5 separate regions of the Homo sapiens genome follow, and all the other regions are linked to region 2. Evidence: promoter capture Hi-C in 16 types of primary human blood cells and fetal thymus (Javierre and others, 2016). All regions are on one chromosome and are shown on one strand. The core of a region is centred on a gene start or on the middle of the fragment in contact, and the rest is flanking DNA. Distances in the headings are between cores, read along the strand shown. Region 1 has its middle 34 kb from the start of BIRC2. Region 2 holds the start of MMP20 (matrix metallopeptidase 20). Region 3 overlaps TMEM123-DT (TMEM123 divergent transcript). Region 4 overlaps LOC124902740 (a long non-coding RNA gene). Region 5 overlaps TMEM123 (transmembrane protein 123).

Region 1 (2,735 bases), core at 160-2,659, 240 kb after region 2:
TGTCCATGTAGCTTTGAAGCTGAAATTATGACTTCTATATTTACAGAAAAATAATTCGGTATTTGCTTGCTGTCATGGAAAAATAAAGATATTCAAGACCTACTACTGAGTGAAAAAGCAACCTTAAGAACATTTCTATAACCATATGTATGTAGGCATGTGTGTATATACACACCCCCACACAGTGAATACATACCAAATTTAACAGTGATTACTACCAGGGAGGGGACTGAAAGTACTAGTGGGGAGAAATTAAAGGGGATTCAAACATTTTACCTTATATACTGATTGTTTGAAACTTTTACAACAAATATCTATTCTAAAGTATTTACCTGCCTTAAAACAAAACAAAACAAAAAAAAAAAAACTGATTGGAACACAATGCTATGACTCAGTCTATCCAGGTCTGATATGAAACAGGATGCTTGCTACTTGGGAATCAGACCTATGACACCGTCTTTAGCAGAGCCCACTAATGAAGAACACAGAAGTCATGTGCAGCTCTACATTAGACCCTACTACAGCCCTGTGAGGAATAAGCAGGACAGAAATTCACCCTCACAGAAAAGCTGAGGACCAGAAACAGTTGTAAAGGGCTTGCCGAAGACCTCATTAAACGGCAGAATTAGACTTAGAGGCAAAGTCTTTGGATTTGAAATTCAGGGCTCTTTACCTATTACCTTTCATTATCAGAGCTGCTAAGGCTTAAAAGCTCCAAGGACTCGATGGTTAAAGCCTATCTGGACACCATACCAGAAAGATAACAGGACCTAACACAATAATCAATTATTACCATAGTCTTTCCATTTCTACTAAGCTATCTAAATCTTCTTCCCCTGAATAATCACGCATATCCCAATGGACCAAGTAGGCAAAAGAATCTATTATGGACTTGTGGGGCTCAATAAATAACATCCCTTTTAGGCAAGTTTAGAACCAATAAAAGGAGTCATCACGTGACAATGAAAACATCATGTTTATCATTGATAAAAGATCTGAAGGATGATGCTTTCGTGTAGATTTCCTAATATGAATGCTAGAAGGAAACAAACTTTACCAGTCACTGGCCCCTGTGACGCCAACATCACAGAAGGACAGAGTATGCTCTCTTCAGACAAGCTGCCTCCCAAAGAGAAAGAAGAAAGAAGGGATTGAGCTACTGGGCATATCCATGCTTCTCTCCCAAAAGCACCAAGACGATAAGCGCAAGGGAAAAAAGAGTTCCTTCTATGTTGAAGAAAACCTAACAGATAAGACTAAGTATTCTCCCTTAATACAATGCTTCTTAGATTCATTTTTTGTTTTTTTAATCAGTCTAATGGTTTTACCACACACCAGTGGTTCTTAAATGCTGGTCCACTGACCACCATTGTGTCTGCACCAATCACTGCAAATGTCAGCACAGTGAAAATAGCAAATAGCATCTTACTTCTGTTTTGTTGTTGCCTCCCACGTTCAAACAATTCTCCTGCTTCAGCCTCCGGAGTAGCTGGGATTACAGGCGCCCGCCACCACGCCCAGCTAATTTTTGTATTTTTAGTAGAGATGGGGTTTCACCACATTGGCCAGGCTGGTCTTGAACTCCTGACCTCAAGTGATCAGCCTGCCTCGACCTCTCGAAGTGTTGGGATTACAGGCGTGAGCCACTGTGTCCCGCCAGCATCTCAGTTCTACTTTTAATTTTTTCAGAGCACCTAAAAGGGTTGAAAGAACTGCTACTATCTACTGATAGGTTTCTTTTACATATAGTAGGGGATACTCATTGAAATGTTACACCTCTAGAAAAAATTTAGGTGTGTCTTTAAAGCTGACCATTCGTTGTCCTTTGACTTATGGAATGGCAGTCAACAAGCAATGAGTCTCTTAGGTTGCTAGTGTTGAGAAGAGCAAACTATTCAGCTCTGGTACTTGAGCTCTTTTAAGAAAAGATGTGGGAAACAAAGGAGAAGCCTAACTAATAATCATACAATTCCTCCCATTTAGGTTAAGACAGGGAAGAAAGAGATCCAAACACAAGTTAAGAATGTAGTAAACTAAAGTATGGGCTGGATGTGGTGGCTCACACCTGTAATCCCAGCACTTTGGGAGGCAGAGGTGGGTGGATCACCTGAGGTCAGGGGTTTGAGACCAGTCTGGCCAACATGGTGAAACCCCGTCTCTACTAAAAATATTAGCCAGGCGTGGTGACGGGTGCCTGTAATCCCAGCTACTCAGGAGGCTGAGGCAGGAGAATCACTTGTACCCAGGAGGCGGAGGTTGCAGTGAGGTGAGATTGTATCATTGCACTCCAGCCTGGGCAACAAGAATGAGACTCCATCTCAAAAACAAACAAACAAAAACTGAAGTATGGTTTAGCAAGAGATTTAAAAAAAAAAATGTAAATGTTCTGGAGCCACTTCCACCTGGACTGTATACAATTCACACTCTACCACTTGTTATCTCTAGCAAATTACATGGTTTCACTGGGCCTCAATTTCCACATTTGTATTATAAAAAAGAGATAACATGTTTCCTACAGTTTTAAGGATTATGGAAGGCAATAAAAAACCTAACAAAGCATCTGACATTCATCTGTCTGCTCAACATAATGAGCACCTGCTAGGACACTGATTATCATCATTAAGAGGGCAAAAAAGATAAGAGACTAAAACCCTAATCTCAAATCCAGGTCCATTTGAGAAGTTTGCAAGCAGATAAAGTATAAATTACACTATGTTTAGTTATATTTTTTGCAT
Region 2 (2,700 bases), core at 123-2,622:
CAAGGCAGCAGGAGAGAGAAGATCAATGGAGGAACTTTCAAACACCTATAAAACCATCATATCTTGTGAGAACTCACTCATTGTCATGAGAACAGCATGACGGAACCACCCCCATGATCCAATCCCCTCCCTCCCTCAACACATGGGGATTACAATTCGAGATGAGATTTGGTTAGGGACACAGAGCCAAACCATATTAATGTGTGACAAACTCTTGTTCAGTGCCTGGGGTTGTACACTAGATACCAAACATTGGCTGTAACTCCACCATCTTCTCTTCCATGCAAAGAAAGCATATCAAAATGCAACAGAGTGAGAAAGACTATAGGAATTCACTGTATTCACTATAGGAATAACCTTGAATTTAGTCTAAAATCAAAATTAGGATTTGAATCCACATCTAGTGGATGCCAAGTGGTGCTTGCAGATGTCATGCTATATGTGTTACTCCATAACACTGAAAAGTTTATACATAGTAGTAGTATTGTCAGTCTTTTGTAGATTAAAAAAAACTTGATATTCAGAGATTAAATGACATACCCAACATCACACAGCTAGGAAATATCTTTTTAAATATTTAGTCTTGCTTTGTCTGACTCTAAGTGCTTTTCCCACCATATGACACCATTTCACCGTATCATCTCTGGATCCAAATCCATCTTAATCAGACCCAGGAAAAACAATATGACTCCAATTAACCAGAGTACACAGAGATTGGGGAGTTCTGGCTATTGTTTTGGTTAACGAAGACGTAACTCTTGCCTTAATTCATCCAAAAGCTTTCTAACAGTTACCAGTTCACTTTCCACCCTAAGTCAGCACAGTATAATGTAATCTTGCCTTGATGATTCAGGATCTTATGTGTCTCAGAGCCATCATTATGAACAGCAGTTGCTACTAAGAAATTTTGAAGTGAATGCAGGAGATACAGGCGATTGGGTTGAATGCATGGGGAGTTTGGGATTACTTGGAGGACAAATTCAATTATACTGTAATCATCTAACTTTTCTGTAATCAGAATGGAAAAAGGCCCCCAAATGAAGACTAATCAAATGTTTCAGTTGAGTTGGGTTCAAATCAATCAAGTTTACTTCAATTTTTGTAACTAGCTGACCAACTTCATTAAAAGTGACTGTTTTTCTCCTTTTGCCACTTGGTAAATAACAAAAAAAATATGAAGCTTTCCCTGATTCCTGTGTACAGTTGTGTTACCCCATCATCAGGGAGAGAAATGAGCTGTATAATTACTGTTTGAGACATGAATCATCCTTGCTCGGAGGGTCCAGACCTGTTTGACTCTATAAAAGGAGCTCAAGGTCGAAGTGCAAACGTGCACTGTCTGCCATCCCCCAGGCTGATATAATTACCAAGCTACTGTGAGGGGATGAAGGTGCTCCCTGCATCTGGCCTTGCTGTCTTCCTCATCATGGCTTTGAAGTTTTCCACTGCAGCCCCCTCCCTAGTTGCAGCCTCCCCCAGGACCTGGAGGAACAACTACCGCCTCGCACAGGTTTGTGAATTTTTGCCCAATTCCTTCTTGCTCCTCTGCCCTAGAAAACCTAAAAGGGCATAGTGAGAAAATAAGAAAAAAATTCTATTGTTCTTTTAAAATCATTTTATATAAGTCCATTGAAGTCTAACTGATGCTATCTTCTGTCCACCTAGATTGGTGTCTGGTGCATATTAGGTGTACCATGTTACATGACTGAATAAATACATGAGGATATATCTACCTAGCTATCTTGCTTCATAAAGAATTCCAGGTGGCTTGTGAAAACCATGCAATATAAAAGGAGCAAACAAGTACTTCCCGGGAATGATGTAGGAGGAAAAATAGAAGCAGAAAAATAAAAACCGAGGCATAATCCACACGCTAGAGGCAGGTTGTGAATTTAGTGCTAAGCTTTAGCGGTCACAACAAGGAGATTTCCTGTGTTTCCACTTTTTAAATGGCTCTTATATTCAAGGTAACCCTGATCAAAATTTAAAGTGGACTAAGTTCTTCCTGGGTGCCAACCCACTTCTCATTTGAAGGCCTTTTCTCCCTAAAGCATATTCCCCAATGAAGTAAAAGTTTATGTACAAAGTACATAACAAAGTTTATGTAGTAAGTACAAAGTACAACGTTTATGTACTTAAACTTTGTGTATTTTCCTCTTTTGAGATCTCTCCTCTATGACTGCTGGAAAGGGTCTGATAGAAATGATCCATATTCAAATATTTCACAAAGACTGCTTGACTCAAAATGATTTCTACATATATATATATATATATATATATATATATATATATATATATATATGCTTCCAAGCGTGTTTTGTTTTTAAAAGAAGGGTGGCATCCTTAACCTAAAGAAATGGATGTCTACGGATGGAATTTCCAACATTAGTGAAAGATATATAGAGGAAATGCTTTTGCACACAGGCCTCCCTTTCAAGAGTCTGCCAACATTACAGCACATCTGTGATCACCAGCTCCGCCTCAGGGCTGCTTTCCTGACTGCCAGGCTGCACCTGTGTACCGCTTGGCTGTCTGCATCGTAGAGCTGATTTGCACCCATGTGCAATGGCATGTCCCTACCGATTGTTTCTGCCACTCATCCTTATTAACTGGTCAGTTCCCCGGCCATACCAGTCATTAAACACTTAAATATCAGCCCCGCAGATGAACAGCACAGCTGATGCCCAGCACAACCATGTT
Region 3 (2,700 bases), core at 181-2,680, 160 kb after region 2:
ATTTTTGTTTGGTATATATTATTGGAATTATAAAATCTTAAAGCTTACGGCAATTATTACGTTTTGGGGTGAAGTTTAAAAATCAAATAAGGAAAAATAGATATTAAGTTCTACATTTAGTTAGTACTTCTTCCTACCAACTTACAGCCCTCACAGTCTGGTGACAGTTTTGGTGGAGTGCTATTACTTACTTGCCCACGTGGAAATGGGTCATTTACTTAAATATAACACCTGCAGGGACATGGCCACACATTATACTATTTTGCTTTTTCTTCCATGCCTTATACAATGCTGCACATACAATAGATGCTCAGAAAAAAGCTTTTGGATGATTTTTATTGATTTCATGCCATTATTAAGGTTAATACCCTCAGAATCTCCATAGGCAGTAGTAGCCCAACCCAGGCCCTGCAGGGCCCAGTCTTGGCGACTTTCACATTCCAAGAAACTTGGTTTAGAAATCAAAGGTAATTTAAAAGTTATTTGAATCTTTACTGTCATTGCTTGAAGAATATTAAAAAGAATTCAACTTGTAACCTATAATGGTAGTCTTAAATCCTCCTTGGCCCCATTCTTCTTCTTTTTTTCCCCCCTTTTCTTTTTTCCCTTCATTCCTCTTGCTTCAGTATGTCCATGGCTGACTTAAAGCCCCCCTCTCAAAATCTCTGCCAAAATTCTCTCCGAACTTGATTCCTTGTGATTCTTGGTTTTGCTTTTCATCCCCCTTCCTTTGGCTTCTATTCCTTCTTTCTTCCCACCAGGAAATCACAGCCCTTGGCATCATCTTGGCACTCACACTTGTTTCTTCACTCAGCCCTTTTCTCCTTGGTCACTGATTCTGCTCCATGAGCAGTCAGAAATGGAGCTGGCAAGCTCAGCCTCTCAGCTGGAGACACTGGAGTCAGGGCTGAAGGGAGGAGAGAGGAGAAGATCACAAAAGCTTATCATCTAAAGTCCTTTCTTTTATTCTCATTACACAGTGAAATTCTAATATATTTACTTATTGGGGGTGGGCTACATGAAAGGTATCTGGAAAAAATATGTGGCAATTATAAGGGTAAAATGACAAAATTTTCTTTGAGGAGGGAGAACACTGCCTACCCATCCTCCCCTCTTTAGGGTGTCACCCTGACAACATAATAGTTCTGACCTTTTGATTTTACATGCAAGGTCATGGGCCTTCTGACCTTTGAAACTGTCAACACTTACCTCTGGGATTTTGCTGAGGTTTCTCATCGGTACAACGATGGGTGTAATGAGACATCACACAGTACATCCTTTTGTCTCTCATAGAAATAAGAGGTTTCAGGCCAGGCGTGGTGGCTCACACCTGTAATCCCAGCACTTTGGGAGGCCGAGGTGGGCAGATCATGAGGTCAAGAGATCAAGACCATCCTGGTCAACATGGTGAAAACCAGTCTCTACTAAAAATATAAAAATTAGCTGGGCATGGTGGCGGGCCTGCAGTCCCAGCTACTCAGGAGGCTGAGGCAGGAGAATTGCTTGAACCTGGGAGGCGGAGGTTGCAGTGAGCAAAGATTGCGCCACTGCACTCCAGCCTGGGTGACAGAGCGAGACTCCGCATTAAAAAAAAAAAAAAAAAAAAAAGGAGGCAAAAGGCAAAGTATACCTGGTATATGACCACTAGACTGGTAAGGGAAAAATGCCACAAGTGAGCGTGCATACAACTCCAGTAAACACAGTGCACATGCGGCCCCCCTCAAAAGCCAGTAGGCCACCGCACAGGCAGACAACCCCCACAAGGGAAGAAAAAAGGGAGAAGTAATGCAGACCCCAAAAGAATGCCAACATATAAAACTCCAAATCAATGGTCAAACAGTACACTTGATCTCTCAAGTTGCCCACTTGGCCGTCTTCCAAGTGTACTTTATTTTCTCTCATTCCTGCTCTAAAGCTTTTGAATAAACTTTCACTCCTGCTCCAAAATTTGCCTCATTCTCTCACTCTGTCTTATGCCCCTCGGTCAAATTCTTTCTTCTGAGGAGGCAAGAGTTGAGGCTGCCGCAGACCCATACGGATTCACCACTGCTAACACAAGTAATACTCAAAATGCAGTATTCCTGGGTGAGAGCAAACTTAGGGATCATCCAATAGCGCTTACTTCCCTCTTGACCCATGTAGATACCAACAGATGATCACTGAAATATTGTATTCAATTTGGCTAACTCTGTATGCGTTCCTGATGAAGGTTGCTATAAGAGATTCAGAAATGACAGAAGGACAGTAGGACAGAATTCAAAAAGTGTGGGTTAGTATTCCAGGATATGGGATGTGAAGCTACCACTCACCCAGTTGCTCAAGCCACAAACCTAAGAGGCTTAATTTCTCTTTCCCTCAGCCATCATATCCAATTGACTCTACTCTCAATCCACATCCTAAATCCATTCACTTCTTCCATTGTCACCACTTCTACCCTAGTTCAAGCCCCCAACAATAGCCTCATAACTGGTCTGTTTCTACTCTTGTTCCTCCACAGAAGCTGGTGTGATGTTTTTAAAAATATATAAAGCACAAGATGACTTGCCAACTCTCAAATGGCTTCTCATCACATTTTGTTTTGTTGTTCTTGTTCTTTCCATACATCATATTTAAAATAAAATCTAAATTCCTCATCTGAAAAGGCCCAGATCTTCCCTTGTACCTCTCTGTTCTTATTCACTGAGCTTCAGGCACATTGGC
Region 4 (2,764 bases), core at 130-2,629, 140 kb after region 2:
ACAACTGTTTTATTTCTGCTGTAAAATAAGTTCCAGTGGTCTGATTGAATCTATAATAGAACATCCAAATGAAGAATGATCTGTTATTTATTATTTATTAATTGATTAATTTATTTTTGAGACAGAGTCTTGCTCTGTCTCCCAGGCTGGAATGCAATGGCACGATCTCAGCTCACTGCAACCTCCATCTCCCAGGCTCAAGTTTCCTGCCTCACCCTCCCAAGAAGCTAGGACTACAGGCATGCACCACCACACCAGGCAAATTTTTGTATTTTTTGTGAAGATGGGGTTCTGCCATGTTGGCCAGGCTGGTATCGAACTCCTGACCCAGATGATCCACCTGCCTCAGCCTCCCATAGTGTTGGGATTAAAGGCATGCGCCACCAGACCAGGGTAATTTTTGTATTTTTTGTACAGATGGGGTTCTACAATGTTGGCCAGGCTGGTATCAAACTCCTGACCCCAAATCATCCACCTGCCTCAGCCTCCCAAAGTGCTGGGATTACAGGCGTGAGCCACCACGCCTGACCTGTTATTAATTTCTTTACCACTGTCATGGTGTCAGCACATCTAGTCAGATAGCGTTCAATCCATCCACTAAACATACAGACAACAATCAAACAGTAAGAAGAGCCTAAAGCCTAATGTCTTAGAGGACTTGCTGAGGCACGTTGGTCTCCTCCAAAAATCTGATGGGATTTATTAGAAGTGCACTGAGAATAATTCAGTTAGAAATTTTGTAAATACCAAGGCAAAACCAATTATCTTTTCATTCCTTAACTATCCTCTGTCTGTACATATGTCCCATCTGAAGGGAGATAAGTGCTTCAAGCCAAGAAGTTAAAAAAAGGGGGGCCACAGGAACTCCATTGGCCCCATGTATAATACACCTGATAATTATCTGACATTCTTTTGTATTCATTTGTGGGTTTTTTGTTTGTTTGTTTGTTTGTTTGTCGCACTGTGCCCATTCTCTGGTAATCAATAACACCAGTAAGCAATAAAGGCAGGTTAATAAAGGGTGGAAAAGAATAGGAGGGTTCTTTGGGGCTGCATTCTTAGTGGCCTTCTCCACCCTCTCGTTCCCTAGAGATATACTATCAGTCTCCTTAGGGTGAGCTGAACAATGAGCAATAGCAATTTGAATAGGGAGGTGAACAGCCTGTAATAGAGCAGCAATTATATGCTAATTGGAAATAGGATTATCAGCAGAAGTTAAGAATCTGCTGGACTTCCAGATTGCCAATAGTGTGGCAGACACCCAAAGCATATCTGGAGTCAGGGTAAATAGTGGCAATTTTTCCTTTTGCCATTACACCAGCTCTAGCAAGATCTATACATTCGGCAGCTTGGGCTGACTTTACAGTGGACAAAGAGGATGCCTGAAGTGTTTCACAAGGGAAAACTATGGCTTCACAGTTATGTTTCCTGGAAATGTCATCCACAGAAGCCATTACAAAATAGAAATAAGTCTGGATTGTCTAAAGGAGTATCTAGGAGGTCTTCTTGTGGCTTTGAGACCTTTTCTATAGCTGCAAGGCAAACATATTGAATGGAGTGAGGCTCTCCATCATCAGGCAGGGGCAGTAGAGCAGCTGGATTTAAAGTGTTACAACAATGCAACATGATGGAGGAGCTGGTAAACAGGGCCTGTGCATAGGTGGCCTGCCATCTGGAGAAAGGTGCTGTATCTTATGAACTTGTAAGAGAACAGGCAGCATGGGGAACATATGGATGAATGAAGGAGTGTAATATCAGAATATGCTGGCTTTGTCAATTATTAGGGTGGTAGCTGTGGCTACTGCACATCGGCATGGGGGTCCAATTGACATGAGAAATATGCTACAGGGTGTATCAGAGAGGCAAAAAAATTGTTCCAAATATCTGCAGCAATCCCATTGTGTCATGGTGAGATGGGCGAAAAGGTCTGTCAAAATCAGGTTAGCTGAGAGCAGGGGATGTGGATGTTAATTTTAAGGCTCCGGAGGAGATTTATGGATCTGCAGGCCAAGAAAATGGGCTCAGAATTAATATCTGGGAGGAGGGTATAAAGGAGCTTAGCAAAGGCAACAAAATTAGGAATATATTGGTGGCAATAACTAGCTGCTCCTAGAAATTTACATAGATGTTTTTTTGGGAGGGGAATGCACAAAACTGACTCTAGGCATTTTGGGGCGAGCTTTTGAGTGCTCTGAGATATGACAACCTAGCAATTCAATCCTACATAAGTAACAGTTATTTGCACCCACTGAAGTTTAGGTTGGAAGGCTTTATGGCCTCTGTTGAGCTAGTGCCTTTAGGAAAATGAGGGAGTCTGGAAGAGTGGGTTGCTTAGTTCAGTAACAAACTAAAAGATCATATCGGAATAATGAACAAGAGTAGAGCCTTGGGTAAAGGACACAGAGTCTAAGCTGACTTTAAGGACTCGGGAAAACACTGAAAAGGACTCATGGTATCCCTGACCTATATGAGTTCATGTTCATTTTCTCCCTCTAAATGTGAATGTAAAGAGAAATTTTGAGTCAGGGCGCAATGGAATTGAACAGAAAATTGAGCAGATGTCAATCATTGTAAATCAGGCTGTATCAGCAGAAATTGAAGTAGAAATGTCAGCTGGATTAGGGACTAAGGGGTGGTGAAAAATCACAAAGGAGTTTATGGGCTCTTAGATCTTGTACAAATCAATAGATTTTATTCCTGTCTGAATCAAATGTTCCTTATTTCTTTACTGGCAAGATTAAGGTATTACAGAGTAAGGAAGGAA
Region 5 (2,700 bases), core at 169-2,668, 220 kb after region 2:
CACCCTCCAGCAACATATGCGCCTCAGATTCTTCAACCTTAGCTTATCGGAGGCTGGAGGAGACTGAGTGGCTAAGATGGGCAGACTTAGATAAAGCTTCACCCCTTGCAAGTCCCACAGGGATGGTCCATTCTGCATCTCTTTGCAGGTGTTAACTGTGCCACTCCTAGAGGTGCCAGTCAGCATTTCAACAGTTAAGGGAGAGGGAAGAAGACCAGAGTTGGGATGGTATCATTTGCAGAGGAAAACAAGTGACTATTTACTTATTACAGAAGAAGATTGGGTCATCCAATGTGAATTTGGAGAGCATCCTTGCATTTCATTTATGCTTAAAAGCATCAGGAAACACAGTTTAATGCAAAATTTCCTTTTGCCTGTTTTGTCAATTCATAGAAATCGACAAAGAAATTGACATAGAAATTGACAAAATTTTTTGTTTCTTTAGCACATTTGGATTGACTTAGCGGAGAACTAACCTATTATAGCTTCCTATTTTGGCCCATGTGACTTTGTACAGTATCTTTGAAGAATGTTTTATTATACCAGAGGGCAGGGGGAGGGGTGTGTGTGTGTGTTGAATCCGAAAGCAGCATTGTGTTCATTGTTTTATTCTGCGGGATCATTCTATTCTAAAGATAGGATATAAACGTTGGTTCTTTGCTGTATTTAATTTCATTGCAATAGAATCCATTCAGCATTTTTAAATAAAAGGTGATTATTTTAATGTTAAATTCTATTACTTATATCTCTATAGAACATTCAGACTTGAATAAGAAAAGATTAGTTCAAGTTCATTTGAACTTAGTGCATTTGTATTACCTACTTGGATATTTATTATTTATTTGCCTATGTAGTATAAAAGCGTTAATTCCTTTGGCCTTATTAAGAAAATAGATCAGGCCGGGCACGGTGGCTCACACCTGTAATCCCAGCACTTTGGGAGGCTGAGGCGGGCAGATCACAAGGTCAGGAGATCAGATCGAGACCATCCTGGCTAACAAGGTGAAACCCCGTCTCTAATAAAAATACAAAAATTAGCCAGGCGTGGTGGTGGGCGCCTGTAGTCCCAGCTACTCAGGAGGCTGAGGCAGGAGAATGGCGTGAACCTGGGAGGCGGAGCTTGCAATGAGCTGAGATCACGCCACTGCACTCCAGCCTGGGCAACAGAGCAAGACTCTGTCTCAAAAAAAAAAAGAAAAAAGAAAATAGGTCATACTCAGTAGAAGAGATCACAGAGACCCAAAGTTGAAGAAAGTAGTAGAAATTCCAGTAGTAAAACCCGATATGCAAGTAAGCAGCACTATTAAAACCAACTTGTTTTGACAGTTAAGTCAAAAATAAATATAGCTGGGGCCGAGCATGGTGGCTTAGCCTGTAATCCCAGCACTTTGGGAGGCCAAGGCAGGCAGATCACCTGAGGTCAGGAGTTCAAGACCAGCCAGGCCAACATGGCAAAACCCCGTCTCTACTAAAAGTACAAAAATTAGGTGGGCTTGGTGGTGCATGCCTGTAATCCCAGCTACTAAGGAGGCTGAGGCAGGAGAATTGCTTGAACCTGGGAGGCAGAGGTTACAGTGAGCCGAGATCGCAGGCACCGGCCCTCCAGCCTGGGGGACAGAGCAAGACTGTTTCAAAAATAGTAATAACAATAATAAATACATATAGGGGCCAGGTGCAGGGGCTCACACCTGTAGTACTAGCACTTTGAGAGGCTGAGGTGGGCGGATCACCTGATGTCAGGAGTTTGAAACGAGCCTGGCCAACATGGTGAAGCGCTGTCTCTACTAAAAATACAAAAATTAGCCAGGCGTCGTGGCATGTGCCTGTAATCCCAGCTACTGAGTAGGCTGAGGCACGAGAATCGCTTGAACCCAGAAGGCGGAGGTTGCCCTGAGCCGAGATCATGCCACTGCACTCCAGCCTGGGTGACAGAGTAAGACTTTGTCTCTAAGTTAAATAAATAAATAAATATCAATCTGTCTGTCTTTCAAGAATAAGGCCAAAATAGTTGTGGAAGATAGGATAATATATGAAGTATCACTTTTGGTACTTGACAACAGTGGCGGGGCAAGGAACCTAAGGCATTGGTACTGCTCTCACTGGGGGAAAGGAGAAAGCAGGTCCAGTGGTTAATTCTGTGTACCTTAAGTATGTGGACATATATAATAAAATGGGAGTATAAAGGTGTCTTAGTACATTTTGTGTTGCTATAAAGGAATACCTGAGACTAGGTAATTGATAAAGAAAATGTTTATTTAGCTCAAGGTTCTGCAGGCTGGGAAAGTTCTGCAAGCCCTGGTTTCTGGGGAGGGCTTTTATAAAGCTGTGCCACAACATGGCCGAGAAGGTCAAAGGGGAAGTGGGTAACTGCAAAGATAGAAAACCCGAGGAGCATCCTGGCTTTATAACAACCCCCTTTCATGGGAACTCATTTCCACAGGAACTGATCCAGTTTTGCCAGAATGAGAACTCACTCACTACCACGTGAAGGGCATCAAGCCATTTATGAGGGATCTGCCCCCATGATCCAGACAACTCCCACTAGGCCCCACCTCCCAAGACCGCCACATTGGAGATCAAATTTCAATATGAGTTTTGATAGGGACAAACAAACCAAATCCAAACCATAGCAGTAGGCAACATAGGAAACCAAAAAACCTGAAAATAAACTATGAGACAGGAAATGAATACAGAAATATA

The links. The method cuts DNA at HindIII sites, captures the fragments that hold promoters and counts their contacts. A CHiCAGO score of 5 or more calls a contact.
Region 1: a contact is called between a fragment that was not itself captured here and the fragment with the promoter of MMP20 in region 2, in 6 of 17 cell types (M1 macrophages, M0 macrophages, naive B cells and 3 more). The highest score is 16.1, in M1 macrophages.
Region 3: a contact is called between a fragment that was not itself captured here and the fragment with the promoter of MMP20 in region 2, in 2 of 17 cell types (M1 macrophages and M0 macrophages). The highest score is 8.1, in M1 macrophages.
Region 4: a contact is called between a fragment that was not itself captured here and the fragment with the promoter of MMP20 in region 2, in 1 of 17 cell types (M1 macrophages). The highest score is 8.8, in M1 macrophages.
Region 5: a fragment that was not itself captured here is called in contact with the fragment with the promoter of MMP20 in region 2 in 5 of 17 cell types (M1 macrophages, M0 macrophages, M2 macrophages and 2 more); the score reaches 13.2 in M1 macrophages.

What each region holds. Positions count from the first base shown.
Region 1 is chr11:102,380,273-102,383,007 of GRCh38, reverse strand. No RefSeq gene overlaps it. Among named protein-coding and RNA genes, the nearest start is that of BIRC2, 34 kb to the right of the region's middle. The HindIII fragment of the contact is 6,214 bases long and covers 1-2,735 here.
Region 2 is chr11:102,624,004-102,626,703 of GRCh38, reverse strand. MMP20 (matrix metallopeptidase 20) reads left to right here and starts at 1,372. Exons shown (of 10, transcript NM_004771.4): 1 at 1,372-1,510. The coding sequence starts at 1,385. The HindIII fragment of the contact is 723 bases long and covers 1,183-1,905 here.
Region 3 is chr11:102,459,655-102,462,354 of GRCh38, reverse strand. It overlaps TMEM123-DT (TMEM123 divergent transcript), which reads right to left. Exons shown (of 2, transcript NR_135053.1): 2 at 317-907. Among named protein-coding and RNA genes, the nearest start is that of TMEM123-DT, 8.1 kb to the right of the region's middle. The HindIII fragment of the contact is 975 bases long and covers 943-1,917 here.
Region 4 is chr11:102,479,754-102,482,517 of GRCh38, reverse strand. All of the region lies in intron 1 of LOC124902740 (a long non-coding RNA gene), which reads right to left. The region is part of intron 1 of LOC102723838 (a long non-coding RNA gene); the gene reads right to left. Among named protein-coding and RNA genes, the nearest start is that of TMEM123-DT, 28 kb to the right of the region's middle. The HindIII fragment of the contact is 6,416 bases long and covers 1-2,764 here.
Region 5 is chr11:102,403,550-102,406,249 of GRCh38, reverse strand. The region is part of intron 2 of TMEM123 (transmembrane protein 123); the gene reads left to right. Among named protein-coding and RNA genes, the nearest start is that of TMEM123, 48 kb to the left of the region's middle. The HindIII fragment of the contact is 2,640 bases long and covers 99-2,700 here.